Linked DNA regions of Homo sapiens: regions 1, 3, 4 and 5 are each linked to region 2. Evidence: promoter capture Hi-C in 16 types of primary human blood cells and fetal thymus (Javierre and others, 2016). All regions are on one chromosome and are shown on one strand. Each heading gives the region's core, a stretch centred on a gene start or on the middle of the fragment in contact. The rest is flanking DNA. Distances are from core to core; before and after follow the strand shown. Region 1 overlaps SWAP70 (switching B cell complex subunit SWAP70). Region 2 holds the start of SBF2 (SET binding factor 2). Region 3 has its middle 45 kb from the start of WEE1. Region 4 overlaps SWAP70 (switching B cell complex subunit SWAP70). Region 5 holds the start of TMEM41B (transmembrane protein 41B).

Region 1 (2,859 bases), core at 16-2,515, 620 kb before region 2:
AAAGGAGCAGGCGAAAAAAGGGCAGAAGGTCAGAGAGAGAGAGAGAGATTTGTTTTCTTTTTTCATTGATTTATTTGTTTGTTTGTTTGTTTGTTTGTTTGAGATGGAATCCCGCTCTGTCGCCCAGGCTGGAGTGCAATGGCATGATCTTGGCTCACTGCAACCTCTGCCTCCTGGGTTCAAGCGATTCTCCTACCTCAGCCTCCCAAGTAGCTGGGGTTACAGGTGTATGCCACCATACCCGGCTAATTTTTGTATTTTTTAGTAGAGACCGAGTTTCGCCGTGTTGGCCAGGCTGGTCTCAAACTCCTGACCTCAAGTGATCTGCCCACCTCGGCCTCCCAAAGTGCTGGGATTACAGGTGTGAGCCACTGCACCTGGCTGAGATTCTGTTTTCTGAGACCTGCTTCTGAGGCCTAAAGCACCCCAACATTATAACAAGGGCTATGGCGTTATGAGCCAGGGACCATGGATGAAAACCTATATATATTTATCTATGTATATCTCTGTCTCATAATATCACATGTTGCAGACAGACTTTTGTCAAACTTATCAATAAAATCGAACTATAGAACACAGATTTAAAAAAAACCCTTGGGAAGCTGGGTGCAGTGGCTCATGACTATAATCCCAGAACTTTGGAAAGCTGAGGCAGGAGGATTGCTTGAAGCCAGGAGTTTGAAAACAGCCTGGAAAATATAGTGAGACTTTATCTCTACAAAAAATTTAAAAATTAGCTGGACATGGTGGTGGGCACCTGTGGTCCCAGCTACTCAGGAGGAGGAGGTTTCAGTGAGCTGAGATAGTGCCACTGTATTGCAGCCTGGGTGACAGAGCAAGACTTTGTCTCAAAAATAAATAAATAGGCTGGGTGCGGTGGCTCATGCCTGTAATCCCAGCACTTTGGGAGGCCGAGGTGGGCGGATCACGAGGTCAGGAGATGGAGACCATCCTGGCTAACACGGTGAAACCCCTTCTCTACCAAAAATACAAAAAAAGAAATTAGCTGGGCGTGGTGGCGGGCGGCTGTAGTCCCAGCTACTCGGGAGGCTGAGGCAGGAGAATGGTGTGAACCCGGGAGGCAGAGCTTGCAGTGAGCGGAGATTATGCCACTGCCCTCCAGCCTGGGCGACAGAGCGAGACTCCGTCTCAAAAAAAAAAAAAAAATTTTAAATTTAAAAAATAGAAGCCACTCCTAGGCCAGGTGCAGTGGCTCATGCCTGTAATACTAGCACTTTTGGAGATTGAGGCAAATGGATCACTTGAACCCAGGAGTTTGAGACCAGCCTTTGCAACATAGTAAGACAAGAAATTTAAAAAGTTAGAGAGGTATGGTGGCACACGCCTGTAGTCCAAGTTCCTTCTGTAGCTGAGACAGGAGATGGCCTGAACTCAGGAGATGGAGGCTGGAGTGAGCTATGATTGTGCCACTGCACTCCAGCCTGGGAAACAGAGTGAGACCCTGTATCCAAAGAAAAAGAAAGAAAGAAACAGAGAGGGAGCGAGAGAGAGAGAGAGAGAGAGGGAGCGAGAGAGAGAGAGAGAGAGAGAGAGAGAGAGAGAGAGAGAGAGAGAGAGAGAGAGAGAGAGAGAGAGAGAGAGAGGAGGGAGGAGGGAGGGACAGAGGGAGGGAAAGGGAGAAAGGGAGAAAGACCTCTTATGGCTTACATAAACTACAATAGAAACAGATGTTTGCTGGTTGTCTAGTCACAGTAATGTTTTCTTGTTAAAACAACTGTTTTATATTTTATATATATTATATATATTTATAGCCATAAATAAGGTCATTGCAGGTCAGTAGGTTTTCTCGAATCTTTAAGCCCTCCTCCGCACACCACCCCTCTCCCCAAAAAGGGAACCACTTCTGTCTGCTTCCCTTTCCTTACCTTGATTTTTTTTCTCCTTCCTTCTCCTGCATTCCCTGTAATCTCACTGGGCATCTTCCTGGCAATCTGTGCACCTTCTACCGGGGAGCTCTGTCTCTCTGGCTCCAGTTGTAACTTGACTGGCTCCCCACCTGAGTTGAGAGTACGTAGGCCTTTATCTCTGCACCCATCCTGTGCACGTTCATAGAAGTCATCAGCTCTGTTAACTTGATTTGCAATTGGATTGTTAAATACAACTGATTGTCATGTTGATTTGGTGTTACTTGGTTTTTCAGGCTGAACTAACCAGGAACACTAAGTGATTGTTTTGAGCTTTTTCTTAAGCAAAGATTTACTTGCTTTTCAGCAGCTGAAGTAGATAGCAATAGGCTAATAGTGGGGAAACAGACTTCCAGAAACACATTTTCTACTTGCTTTTAAACTTGTATTCATGAATAGTCCTTTCTTAGAACAAACCGTATAGTTTAAGACTGTATTATCTGTTTTGATTGCAATTTTAGTATATTCTGTGTTAACTGATGGTAGACTGAAAACTGTATTGAGAGAGATGGAAAGGGGTTTTCTTTATAGGAAGGTGCTAGGTGCACATAGGTAGCTGAGTAAATGTAGTTGAATTCAACGTTAGACATTTTTTCCACCATTTTTCCCCCTTGGTTTGGTTTTGGTGCTCTTCTTTTGTTTGTACAGTTTGTCCCTTGGTATCCTTGGGGGATTGGTTCCAGGACTCCCTGCAGATACCAAAATCGTAGGATGCTCAAGACTCTTATATAAAATGGCATAATATTTGCATATAACCTATGTATATCTTTCTTTATACTTTAAATTATCTCTAGATTACTTATAATACCTAATGCAATATAAATGCTGTGTAAATAGTTGTTAAGTTACATTGTTTAAGGAATAATGACAGGAAGAAAAGTTTGCCCATGTTAAGTATAGATGCAGTTTTTTTTTTTTTTTTTTTGAGACGGAG
Region 2 (2,700 bases), core at 164-2,663:
TGCCAAATTACTAGGAAATAAAATTTTGGATCCAGAAGTTTAAACATTTAAACTTTCTCTTTAACAATTGACCTCAATCAGGTCATGACTGGTGAAAGAGAAAAGAACATGAAAGGTTCCCACTAAAGGAGAGGAAGTTCTTAGGAGAGGAATAATGAAAGAGAGAGTGGACCAAGAGTGGGTAGAACAATGGTATTCTGAGCTACCAATGGCTGTAACCATCAGGAAAACACAATCTCAGCATCTCTGAAAAATGAAGGGGCTGTAGAGCTGATATCTCAAATTCCTTGCAAATGTGGGACTAGAATTGCCCTAAAATAGAAGTGGTTTCCCAGCTCAATTTGTTATTACATTATGCTTAGCTACATAGTAATACAAGAGAATACAAATACAGAAATAAACGTGCATGAACCCTGAATTCTCTTAAGTTGTGGAAGTCCGTCAATTAAAGTGTAAAATACAATGCATTTGCCCAATTGTTCCTTACGACGAAAATTCTGTGACAAATAAAAAGAACAATGAAAACACATTAAAGTGAAACAAGATCACCTTCAGCGGTCAGCTGGCTGTCCTTAGTTAAAAGACAAGTCATGTCACTGTGAAGTGACCGTCACATTTGTCCTGAAAGAATAGGGAGCATTTCCTAGAAAGGGGTAAAAGTGCAAAGAATCCTGTCCCCTTCCCTGGTACCACGCGTTCCTTGGGGAGGTCACTAGGCCCCCAACAGCACAGGGGTGAGTTAGCACTGGACTCTCAGCACTTCCTTTCGGAGAGGACAACCCCCTGCGTCACTGGTTACTCACTCAGGATGCAGGGCAGAAGTTTATCCCCGAGGAACTTAGCACAGTTGGCTCCCGCCCTCCCAGCCTTGCGGTCCTGGGCCCAATCTCAGGGCTCTCTCTGCCCCGGGTACCCTGCAGCCTCCAGCGGGAGGGTCGCGAGACCCCAACTCGCCTCCGGCCCGCCCAGCGGGTGCGCCCAGGGGCTGGGCAGACGCGGCGTCTTCCCTCCCCCTACCGTCGTGCCGGCCCCCCCACGCCCACCGCCAGGCTCAGCCCAGCCGAGAAGGCCGGACGCCGACCGCCCGCTCCTCCGAGACTCGGCCTGGCCCTCCCCGACGCCCGTCCCCGACGCCCGGCCCCGCGGAGCCCACTGGACAGCGGCCGGGGGGCGGGGAGGCCCGGGGGCGGTGCCGCCCCACACCCTTACCTGGCTTCTCGTGGTCATAGCCTACCACGATGAAGTAGTCAGCCAGCCGGGCCATGGCCGCCGCCGCCGCGCTCGGGAAGCGGGTCCCCGTCGCCGCCCTCGCCGCCGCCGCCCACCCGGCCCGGGAGGGCTCAGCATTTTCCCTGCAGCGGCAGTAGCGGCAGCGGCAGCGCTTCAGCCATGTTTGACAACCGAGGCGCGCTCTGCGCTTGCGCGGCGCCTAGTGCCCGCTCCTCCCCCGCCCCCACCCGCGCTGGCTCGGCTGCCCCAAGCCCGGGCGGCGAGCCCACCTCCACCCTCCGCGGGCCTCGCGGACTGCTGCGCTGGGGGAGTGGGCGGTCGGGCGTGTTCCCGCCACGCGCCGCCACCGCGGCCCCTGGAGGTGGTTCACTTTGAGGCCTGGATGCTGCTTCACGGCCCCCTCTGCCTCCCTATTTTTCCTAAAGCAGGGGGTCCTTCCTTCCGCCTTCTCTATTCTGTTTGGATTTGGAAGAAGGGATGTGGAGAGTTGAGGGGTCACTTGGAAAGCTGGCTGCTTCCTCTGCTCCCCACCACCACCAAAGATGAAATTCTCCCGCCCTCGGTTGGAAGCAAGGAATTTGCATCGACAGGGCTTTTGCTGCACGTTTCCTGTTTATGTTGTGTAGATGGGAATTTTAGAAACATGCCACCGAGCAGACGGGGGAGGGAGAGGCTTTTACGCAATCCTCCAAGGAGCCTCGGGTTTCAATGCCGGGTGGGCCGGGGGCGGTCGGCCTGGGCTTCCCCCGGAGCGCCCGGGAGAGCCAGATTCCACCGAGGAACGCGGCATCCCCGGGATCCTCCCGAACTGGGCTGGCCTCTCCCTGGGGAGCCCCGCACGCCTCGGCTTGCTTCCCTCGCAGCGGTCCCAGGGCTCTCGCAGCCCGAGCAGGTGGACTTCCAACTTCCCTGCTCAAACATGCACAAAAATGAATAGATGGTCCCGTCCTTCCGTCTCGGGATTATCAAAGTCGCTTGCTTTTTTGTTGAACCTCCTATTGACCATTTCGAATTTGGCTGGTGTGACATTCAGGTGAACTCACTTTGTCATTTGTTAATATCTCACGAAGTTTTAGTAGAATTTGTACAAGTGGTAGACCAAAGTTTTGGAAATCTCCGTGGTTTAGAAGTTGTCTTTGTGGTTGCTTATCACTGCTCACTATTAATTGAGGGTTTGATCCTTCATATTTACACATAAGACAAGGCCTCTTAGCAAAGCGTCTAGTATATAGTAGGTGCCTACAAAATATTTTAAATGAGTAAATGTGCGATTTTCCCCAACGACCAGCAGGAAGCCGCAATGGCTCCAACTCTGAACTGAGAGAGTTGACATCTCAGCTCCTGAAGATTTACTCTGCTGTAATTTACTATTTCCCCTTTCTCTGCCACACTTGTTTCATCTACAAATTGGGAGGGTTGGGCTGCACTAGAACTGAAACTGAAGGAATACTTTAACTCCAGGACCTCTAT
Region 3 (2,700 bases), core at 173-2,672, 680 kb before region 2:
CGATTCTCCTGTCTCAGCCTCCTGAGTAGCTGGGATTACAGGCATGTGCCACCACGCCTGGCTAATTTTGTATTTTTAGTAGAGATGGGGTTTCTCTTGGTTGGTCAGGCTGGTCTCTAACTCCTGACCTCAGGTGATCTGCCAATCTTGGCCTCCCCAAGTGCTGGGATTACAGGTGTGAGCCACCATGCGTGGCCCTAATTTTTGTCTTTTTAGTAGACGGGGTTTCACCATGTTGGCCAGGTTGGTCTCGAACTCCTGACCGCTGGTGATCCACCCACCTCAGCCTCCTAAAGTGCTGGGATTACAGACGTGAGCCACAGCGCCCTGGGGACGGTTTTAATAGGATTTGTTGATGGTTTAGAAGTCAGAAAGGGAAGAGTCAAAGATGACATCAAGCTTTAGGAAGAATGGAACTGCTATTGTGTTTTCTGAGTTTTGTTGTTGTTTGTTCATTTGCTTGTGTTCTGTGTAGGGAGATGGGGAATTAGGAATTTAGTTTTGAACATATTAAATTTGAGATGCCTGTTAGAAAGCTAAGCGAATAAGTCAAGTAGGCAGTGAAATATAAGAACTTGAAGTTTACGGGAGAAGTCAGAGCTGATTTTGGAGACATGAGTGAGGATATATTTAAAGCATGAAATGGCATGAGATCCAGCCCAGACTTCTCTCCCAATCATTTATCCGGCTGTCTACTTGACATCACTACTTGGATGTCTAAAAGACAACTCAAGCTCAAAACATCCAAAACAACATCTGATCTTAACTCCCCTAAACAATTCCACCCGTAGCCTCGCCCATCTCAGTTAATGATGTCACCATTCTTTCATTGCTCAGACAAAATCCTGGAGTGACTTTACTTTTTCTCTTATCTCCCACATTTAATTGGTTAGGAGGTTCTCTTGGCTCTGCCTTGAAAATATATTCAGAATCCAAACGCTTCTTACCACCTTCATTGCTACCATCCAGATCAGAGCTGCCATTGGTTGTTTCTTGCCTGGCTTACTCCTAACAATTTCTCTGCTTCTGCAACTGGCCTTCCCCATCCCCGACCACTCTGTTCTCAACAGAGGGATTTTAAAAAAACCTGTCAGATCACGTCCCTCCTCTGCTCAAAACCCTCCAAACAGCTTGCCGTTTCAGAGTAAAAGACAAAGTCCTGGCTGGGCACAGTGGCTCATGCCTGTAATCCCAGCACTTTGGGAGGCCAAGTGGGTGGATCATGAGGTCAGGAGATCGAGAACATCCTGGCCAACATGGTGAAACTCTGTCTCTACTAAAATACAAAAAATTAGCCAGGTGTGGTGGTGCGCACCTGTAGTCCCAGCTACTTGGGAGGCTGAGGCAGGGGAATTGCTTGAACCTGGGAGGTGGAGGTTGCAGTGAGCCGAGATTGCACCACTGCACTCCAGCCTGGTGAAAGAGTGAGACTCTGTCTCAAAAAAAAAAAAAAAAAAAAAAAAGACAAAGATCTTATAATGGCCTTCCCAATCTGACCCAGAGCCTCTACCTATGACCCTACATCCTACTGTTCTCTCCATCACTCAATTGGCCCCAGCAACATAGCTTTCCTTGTTGTTCCTCAACCATGCCAGACACACTCCTGCCTCTTTCCTCTGCTTACAATGCTCTTCTCTCCGCTAGCCCCTTGTCTCATTCATTACCTTCCTAAGATTTTGCTGAGACTTCTTCTGGACTGGGTGAAGGGCACAGGCAAAAAATTGCAAGGGCCTGGACCAAGGCAGGGAATGAAAGCATATTTTAAAACACACTGCAGTGACAGTCTTAAAAAACAGGAAGTTAGAGAAACCATGTAGTCATTTGTTCATTCATTCATTCAGTTAATCATTCATCAAATGCCTTCTCTGCACTTTCAGCATGGAAGACACTGGGAATATCAGTACTATGTCCAGACAGACCTTTAACTCAAAAGATGAAGCACCCAGCCAGGTGCAGTGGCTCACACCTGTAATCTCAGCACTTTGGGAGGCTGACACAGGTGGATCACCTGAGGTTAGGAGTTTGAGACCAGCCTGGCCAACATGATGAAACCCCATATCTACTAAAATACAAAAATTAGCCAGGCATGGTGGCGTGCAACTGTAATCCCAGCTACTCAGAAGGCTGAGGCAGAAGAATTGCTTGAACTCAGGAGGTGGAGGCTGCAGTGAGCTGAGATCACGCTACTGCACTCCAGCCTGGGCGACAGAGCGAGACAAAAAAAAAAAAAAAAAGGCGAAGCACACAAGTGTTATAATCTTTGAGCAGGACATTTGTCTCACTCTCACGGAGCTACCAATATGTTGCAGGAGCAGCCAAATATCTCAAGGTGGGATGAATGAAGTGAACTGGCTGGTGCTCCTCCAGTAAATACTGTCCTTTTATTGCCCAGGGGCTCTGGACCTGCCTCGGGTCAAGAAGGGCACAAAAGCGGGATCAGAAGACCAAAGCTTTCCAAGCAGCTGTGTGGGGCAGCTGTGCAACTGAGACCATGCTCAACCTTCCCTTCCTCATCCCCTGTGAACTCTCTGAGGCCAGTCAATTCCTGGGGTGGGACATGCTGGTGGGTGGAAGGAATGTGGGGAAGAGCTACCAGTTACACCAAATAGAGATTCATCCAGGTTAACCAGCAGGTTTTTCAAACATGCAAGTCCCTGAAAGGACTGAAATATATGGGTACCAGAGTTAGTAGAGCCCCAG
Region 4 (2,700 bases), core at 19-2,518, 600 kb before region 2:
CACTGAATTTAGCCATCCCTGTGTTTAACAAGAGTGCTGTTTAATTGTCGAAGGCTGAAATCTTGAGTTCAAATCTATATCTTCTGCAGTGGGATCACTTAATCAAACTAAGCATCTATATGTACAAAGAGCATTGTTGACTTTAGACAACTGAAGACATAATGTTTCTTATTACTGGAGAGTGCTGGACCAGAGATTACAAAACCCGAGTTCTAGTCTCAGTTCTTCTCAGTAACTTTAGTCAAGAAAAACAAATTTAATATCTGTGAGTCTGTAGTCACCATTTATAAGATGAGGATGACAATATGACATCCAAGGCCCCTGCCAGGGCTTTAGTTAGAGGATCTGTGAAACCCTAAGGTAGAGAACAGGGTGGGTATGGGAGAGATGGTGTTTTTTGTTTCCTGAAGGCTTTGGATTAATCAGCTACTTTTATCATGTTATTCCCCTATCTGGAAATTTTTGTATTTGCCTCTATTCCTATCCTAAAGCTATCCTTACCTATCCTGTAAGCCATAAGTTACATTTTACTTCCTCTGTGAAGTCACTGTAACACATACTATTTCTCCTTTTCTGAACTCATTTATTGCCCTTACAGCTCACTCATCCATTAGTCATGGTACATTGCTGTGGAATATGTCTTCCTTTTACACCTCATTTCTAGTCAGCAGGTTAATGTAGAAGAAAAAGTATAGGCTATGAAGATAAATAGATTGATCTATGTGATCTTAGGCTGGCCACTTAAAATATATATATATATATATATATTTAATTTTAAAAATATGTACTACATTTTTGAGTAGGTTAATTTTTTTTAAAAAAACTTAATACAAAGAAGAGCTACAGTGAAGTCTTTTTCTAACCTTGGTCTCATCAAACTTGTCTTCCTTTCACAGTTACTAGTTTCTTATATATCCCTCCAGAATTTCTTTTCTTCCTCCCTTTTCTTTTTTATACAAAAGATGGCATACATATTCTTAGGTACCTTGTTTTTTTCACTTAATTTATGTTGGAGATCTTTTCATATCCGTACATAGCAAGCTTTCTCATGGTTTTTATGTTTTATGGATATACCTTAATTTAACCAGTAGTTGGGAATTGTTAACTTGGGTAAAGTTCCAAATGATTTTAAAATTTGAATGACATTTGAACCTGATCTGAGAAGTGTGCATTTCTTTAATACTTGTATTTCCATAGCATTTTACAGTTATTAAGCTCTTTATATTCTTGAAATTGATCTTTAGTATATAGGATTTACTAGGCTAATATAAATTAAATATCTTTTTAAAATTTTGCTGATTGTGGTGCAGGATTCTCCAATAAAAGCTCCACCGTACTCTTTTCATGTGCTTTACTGGCAAACACAGGGTTTGCTTGAGAAACACAGCCTGCTTTGTAGTCTTCATTACTGCATTTATAACCATTTGTGAATTTACTTCCTTAACTTACTTCCTTAAAACCAGTAGAGCATGTAGAAAAGGATCTCCACATAAATGAAGCTTTGAGAAACAAAACAAATTTAGAAAGAAGATATGCAAATTATTTTATAGATTAAAAATGTTTAATCTTAAAAAAACTCCTAACTGAAATATGTGTATGCAGAAAAAGGGACTCGCTTAATGCAAATGAAAGTATTTATTGAGATGAATGTGGCTCCTTAAGGTTAAATGTTTAGGGCTGAGAAAAATAAGGAACGTTTTTACCTGGGGTTCAACTAGGAAGATTCTCTGTTGAAGAAAATACAGCCTTAGCTATGTAATTTGACCTGTTCAGAAAGCACAAATGAAATGGAAGGGATTTAAGTTCTATCTTGAAATTTTCATTTAATGTAAAACAAGATTAATACTAAGGTAGCCCACACTGCTCATTTAACTACTGTACCTGGACTTTGAAGTGTGAACTTAGGTTATTGCAAGACCAGTAGCCCTTTATATGTATTTATGCTATGGAATGCAGGTTTTCTGTAAAATATTTTTAACCATGTTGGCGACTCCTATTTTTGCTATTTAATTTTTTCCTGAATCTAATCCAGGCCCTTGATTTCTTTCTCTTTTTATATTTATATTCTTTTATACTCATGCTGAAATTTAGCCTAGTCATAGAATTTTAGAAATGTTTAGATACTTAGAGATTCCTAATTAATATTTGGTATATTAATTTGGCCCTTTCTATTGAATAAATGAGAAAACTAAAGCCTGGAGAGGTTGTGACTTGCCCAGGTCAGCCTCCTTGTCCAGAACCCCTGGCTGCAGCCTCCCAATAATACCAGGTTCTTTCTCTGAACAGCTCTAATTGGCTGACTCTGCTCTACTTGGTGAAAAGTTTAATTTTGAACACATTCTCTTAGACTTCCCCCCCCACCCCACTTTTCTTTCTGATGTGGACAAATTAGTAAAAGACCACAGGAGTATTATATTCACAGATCTTGCATGGAGCCTGGCTCATAGTAGGCATGTAATAGAGACTAGTTCTAAGTGAACCAAACCTGGGAAGGAATGAGAAAGAATAACAGGTTACAAGTAGGGGCTTGCAGCTGAGCAGTCCTCACCCTGTTTTTGCTAGTTTATTTTCCATCTTTCTCTACCCAGGAGAGGGAGCAGCATGTTGTACTCATGGTGAAGGTGTCATGTGCTGGTTAGTGGGAGTCTTTAAACGATTTTCTTTTCCCTTGCAGGTCCTTTCCCATAACCTGTGCACGGT
Region 5 (2,700 bases), core at 129-2,628, 980 kb before region 2:
AAATTATATGAAGTCACCTGGATCCAGTGTATATAAGCTGGAAAAATACCCAAAAACATAAGGCTGACAGAGCCAAATTAGACTGTTGGAGACATTTTAAATTATTTGAAAATACATTAACATTTTCTACTACATACTCTTAGAAGTTCTCCTAGCCATCACTGGTGGTGGAACACACCTATGTGAGCTACAGACAAACTTGTTAGGATCACTTTAAGTTTATGAGCTTTAAAATCATTTAAAGAACGATTCCAGGCCAACACGGAATCAAAGTATTTAGTTTCTACGTACAGTTTTTTCCTTAAAACAATATTTAAAGCCGTGAGATTCTGCAATTATAGAGGCAGTAGGAATAAAGAGAAAACAAAAACCAAAAATAAAGCCGTGAGAAATGTCAGGATGATGTAGTGGGGAAATAAACTTTAGAATGAGTGACCTTAGCTGTAACTAAGTAATTGCTAATATTTATTTAGCCCCCACTTCATATCCAAGCATTGCTCTAAATCTTTTACGTGAATTATTTCGTTTAACCCACGCACCACCTATTAAGTAGATATTATTATTATCCCCATTTCACAGTTCAGACACTGAGCTTTTTTTGAAAGTTACCAAGTCCAAGGTTCCAAGTAAACAGTAGGGCAGGGACTCAAGCCCAGGTGTACTGCCACCTGGAAGTATTAAGTCCTCGCTCCTAACTACTACTTCACTGATCTGGCTTTATGACTTTATAAGTCATATACCCACACTGGGCCTCAGTTTCTTCATCTGTAAAAACAACGCAGCGAATGCCACAGTACAGCTCCTTCCAGCTCTGCCTAGCGTCGTTATCATCAACCTTACAATCTACCTGAGCGTCAACAAGCCAGTGTCATCCCTTCTTTTAAATGAATTCTACTCAAACAGCATTTACAACGCACCTACTCGGCGTCCGGCCTTGTGCTGCGCGAGCGCCCAAGCCCAACTCCCCCACGGTCTCTGCTCCCGCCGCGGCGCCAGCAGGCCCCCCTCTTTCCCCGCGACTCTCCGAGAATAGCGGGGGTCCTTTTCCCCACCCGACACACAGAAGCCTCGGGCCACCCCCAGCTCTGCTCCCCGGGCCCACTCACCCTTCTGGTGGTCTCTGCTGCCAGGCGCCGCGAGACCCCGCGTCCCCGCTGCCCCGTCCCCCACGGGGGTCGTGTGGTGAGCGCCCAACTGCGATCGTTCGGCGACTCTGCCTTTCGCCATGGCTGCTGCAAGGTGAAGGGAGCGGTGCGGTGCCGCGCCCCCTAAACAACAAAACTCTGTTGCAGGCTCCTTACTACGCCGAAGCGCCACGGCTAGAGCCACTTCCGGCGCGACCTCCTCACCCGAGACGACCTCAGCCCAGCGAGTACTGCAACCTCCTGCAAACACCCGCAGCGCCCACCACAGGCTAAACCCCGCCCCGTGCCGCCCCCGAGCCTCGCGTGCTCGCGCCGGCCCAGTAACCGCGAGACAAGTCAGGGTCCTGGACCGCCCCCTTCAGTGCCCCGCCCCGGCCCGCCCGCGGGAAAGAGGTGGCCGCCGGGCGCTGGGGCGAGAGCATGCGCAGTCGCGGCACTCGAGTCACCCGGCTGCGACTCGCTGGCCCTGGCGTCTAAAGCGTAGCCTTAATTACCCGGAAGTGCGGTCCCAGGGACTTCAAACCTTTTGTCCAGGCCGCCGGAGGTGCCTGTGATTAGTCGGCATTTCGCGGCTGAGGCTGATTCAGCCCATTACATCAATTCCGCAGCTGCTGTCTTCAATTTGGAGGCGCCAGAGAGTGCTTGATCTAAAAGATGGTGGGAAATACAAAGGTTGAGCAAAACCTACCTGAATTTCAGGAAACTAAGGCTCAGAGAGGGCTACGTACAACCTGTGAAGATCACAGGATGGCAAAAATGGGCTTAGAATCCAGGTTGTCCTGTTCCCAAAGCTAACGGTTTTGCATTAGCTGCTGCCCCTTACTACTAAACCCAAGTCAGCTCTACATTTAGCTTATCCCTAAGCTAAGCGGAAACATGCCTTTTCCACAGGTAACTTTTTCTGCTTCTACCCCTCAGAGCACATTCAGCTTACTCACCGTGGTTACCTCTTGAAAGCAACTTAGAGGCCGGTCGCGGTGGCTCAAGCCTGTAATCCCAACACTTTGGGAGGCCAAGGCGGGCGGATCATTTGAGACCAGGAGTGTGAGGCCAGACTGGCCAAAATGGTGAGATGAGACCCCGTCTCTGCTAAAAATACAAAAATGAGCTGGACATGATGGCTTGTAATCCCAGCTACTCGAGAGTGTGAGTCAGGAGAATCGCTTGAACCCCGGAGGCTGAGGTTGCGGTGAGAAATTGCACCGCTGCACTCCAGCATAGACCACAAAGCAAGACTCCGTCCCAAAAAAAAAAAAAAAAAATCCTGATTGTTTCTATTCAGTAATTACATTTGTAGGAAATTATTCCATGAAAATAAACATAAATAATTCCTCTGTATTAGTATAACAGTGAAAAACTAAAAGCAATATAAAAATCCAACACTAAATAAAAATGGTTAAGTAAATTATGGGAAACCCATTCAATTGAACTGTTTTATGTACACATCCTTTGCCTACTTCTGGCTCCCATTTTATTTCCTTCATAGTCATTAAAAGCAATTAATTCTGTGAACTATTTGTTTACTTGTTTATTGTCTGCCTCCACCTTTAGAATA

What was found. Contacts are between HindIII fragments. The CHiCAGO score rates a contact against its expected background, and 5 or more counts as called.
Region 1: a fragment that was not itself captured here is called in contact with the fragment with the promoter of SBF2 in region 2 in 1 of 17 cell types (activated CD4 T cells); the score reaches 5.0 in activated CD4 T cells.
Region 3: a fragment that was not itself captured here is called in contact with the fragment with the promoter of SBF2 in region 2 in 1 of 17 cell types (activated CD4 T cells); the score reaches 5.6 in activated CD4 T cells.
Region 4: a contact is called between a fragment that was not itself captured here and the fragment with the promoter of SBF2 in region 2, in 2 of 17 cell types (M2 macrophages and total B cells). The highest score is 6.8, in M2 macrophages.
Region 5: a contact is called between the fragment with the promoter of TMEM41B here and the fragment with the promoter of SBF2 in region 2, in 4 of 17 cell types (activated CD4 T cells, neutrophils, non-activated CD4 T cells and 1 more). The highest score is 8.2, in activated CD4 T cells.

What each region holds. Positions count from the first base shown.
Region 1 is chr11:9,673,818-9,676,676 of GRCh38, forward strand. All of the region lies in intron 1 of SWAP70 (switching B cell complex subunit SWAP70), which reads left to right. Among named protein-coding and RNA genes, the nearest start is that of SWAP70, 11 kb to the left of the region's middle. RefSeq lists an enhancer at 1,989-2,523. The HindIII fragment of the contact is 4,593 bases long and covers 1-2,859 here.
Region 2 is chr11:10,292,806-10,295,505 of GRCh38, forward strand. SBF2 (SET binding factor 2) reads right to left here and starts at 1,414. Exons shown (of 40, transcript NM_030962.4): 1 at 1,210-1,414. The coding sequence starts at 1,264. RefSeq lists silencers at 812-951, 992-1,071, 1,102-1,381, 1,502-1,551. The HindIII fragment of the contact is 10,661 bases long and covers 1-2,700 here.
Region 3 is chr11:9,617,410-9,620,109 of GRCh38, forward strand. No RefSeq gene overlaps it. Among named protein-coding and RNA genes, the nearest start is that of WEE1, 45 kb to the left of the region's middle. The HindIII fragment of the contact is 2,051 bases long and covers 398-2,448 here.
Region 4 is chr11:9,691,472-9,694,171 of GRCh38, forward strand. SWAP70 (switching B cell complex subunit SWAP70) reads left to right here. Exons shown (of 12, transcript NM_015055.4): 2 at 2,675-2,700. Among named protein-coding and RNA genes, the nearest start is that of SWAP70, 29 kb to the left of the region's middle. The HindIII fragment of the contact is 458 bases long and covers 1,040-1,497 here.
Region 5 is chr11:9,313,215-9,315,914 of GRCh38, forward strand. It overlaps TMEM41B (transmembrane protein 41B), which reads right to left and starts at 1,379. Exons shown (of 7, transcript NM_015012.4): 1 at 1,107-1,379. The coding sequence starts at 1,227. RefSeq lists enhancers at 570-1,087, 1,088-1,603 and a silencer at 1,369-1,718. The HindIII fragment of the contact is 4,694 bases long and covers 1-2,700 here.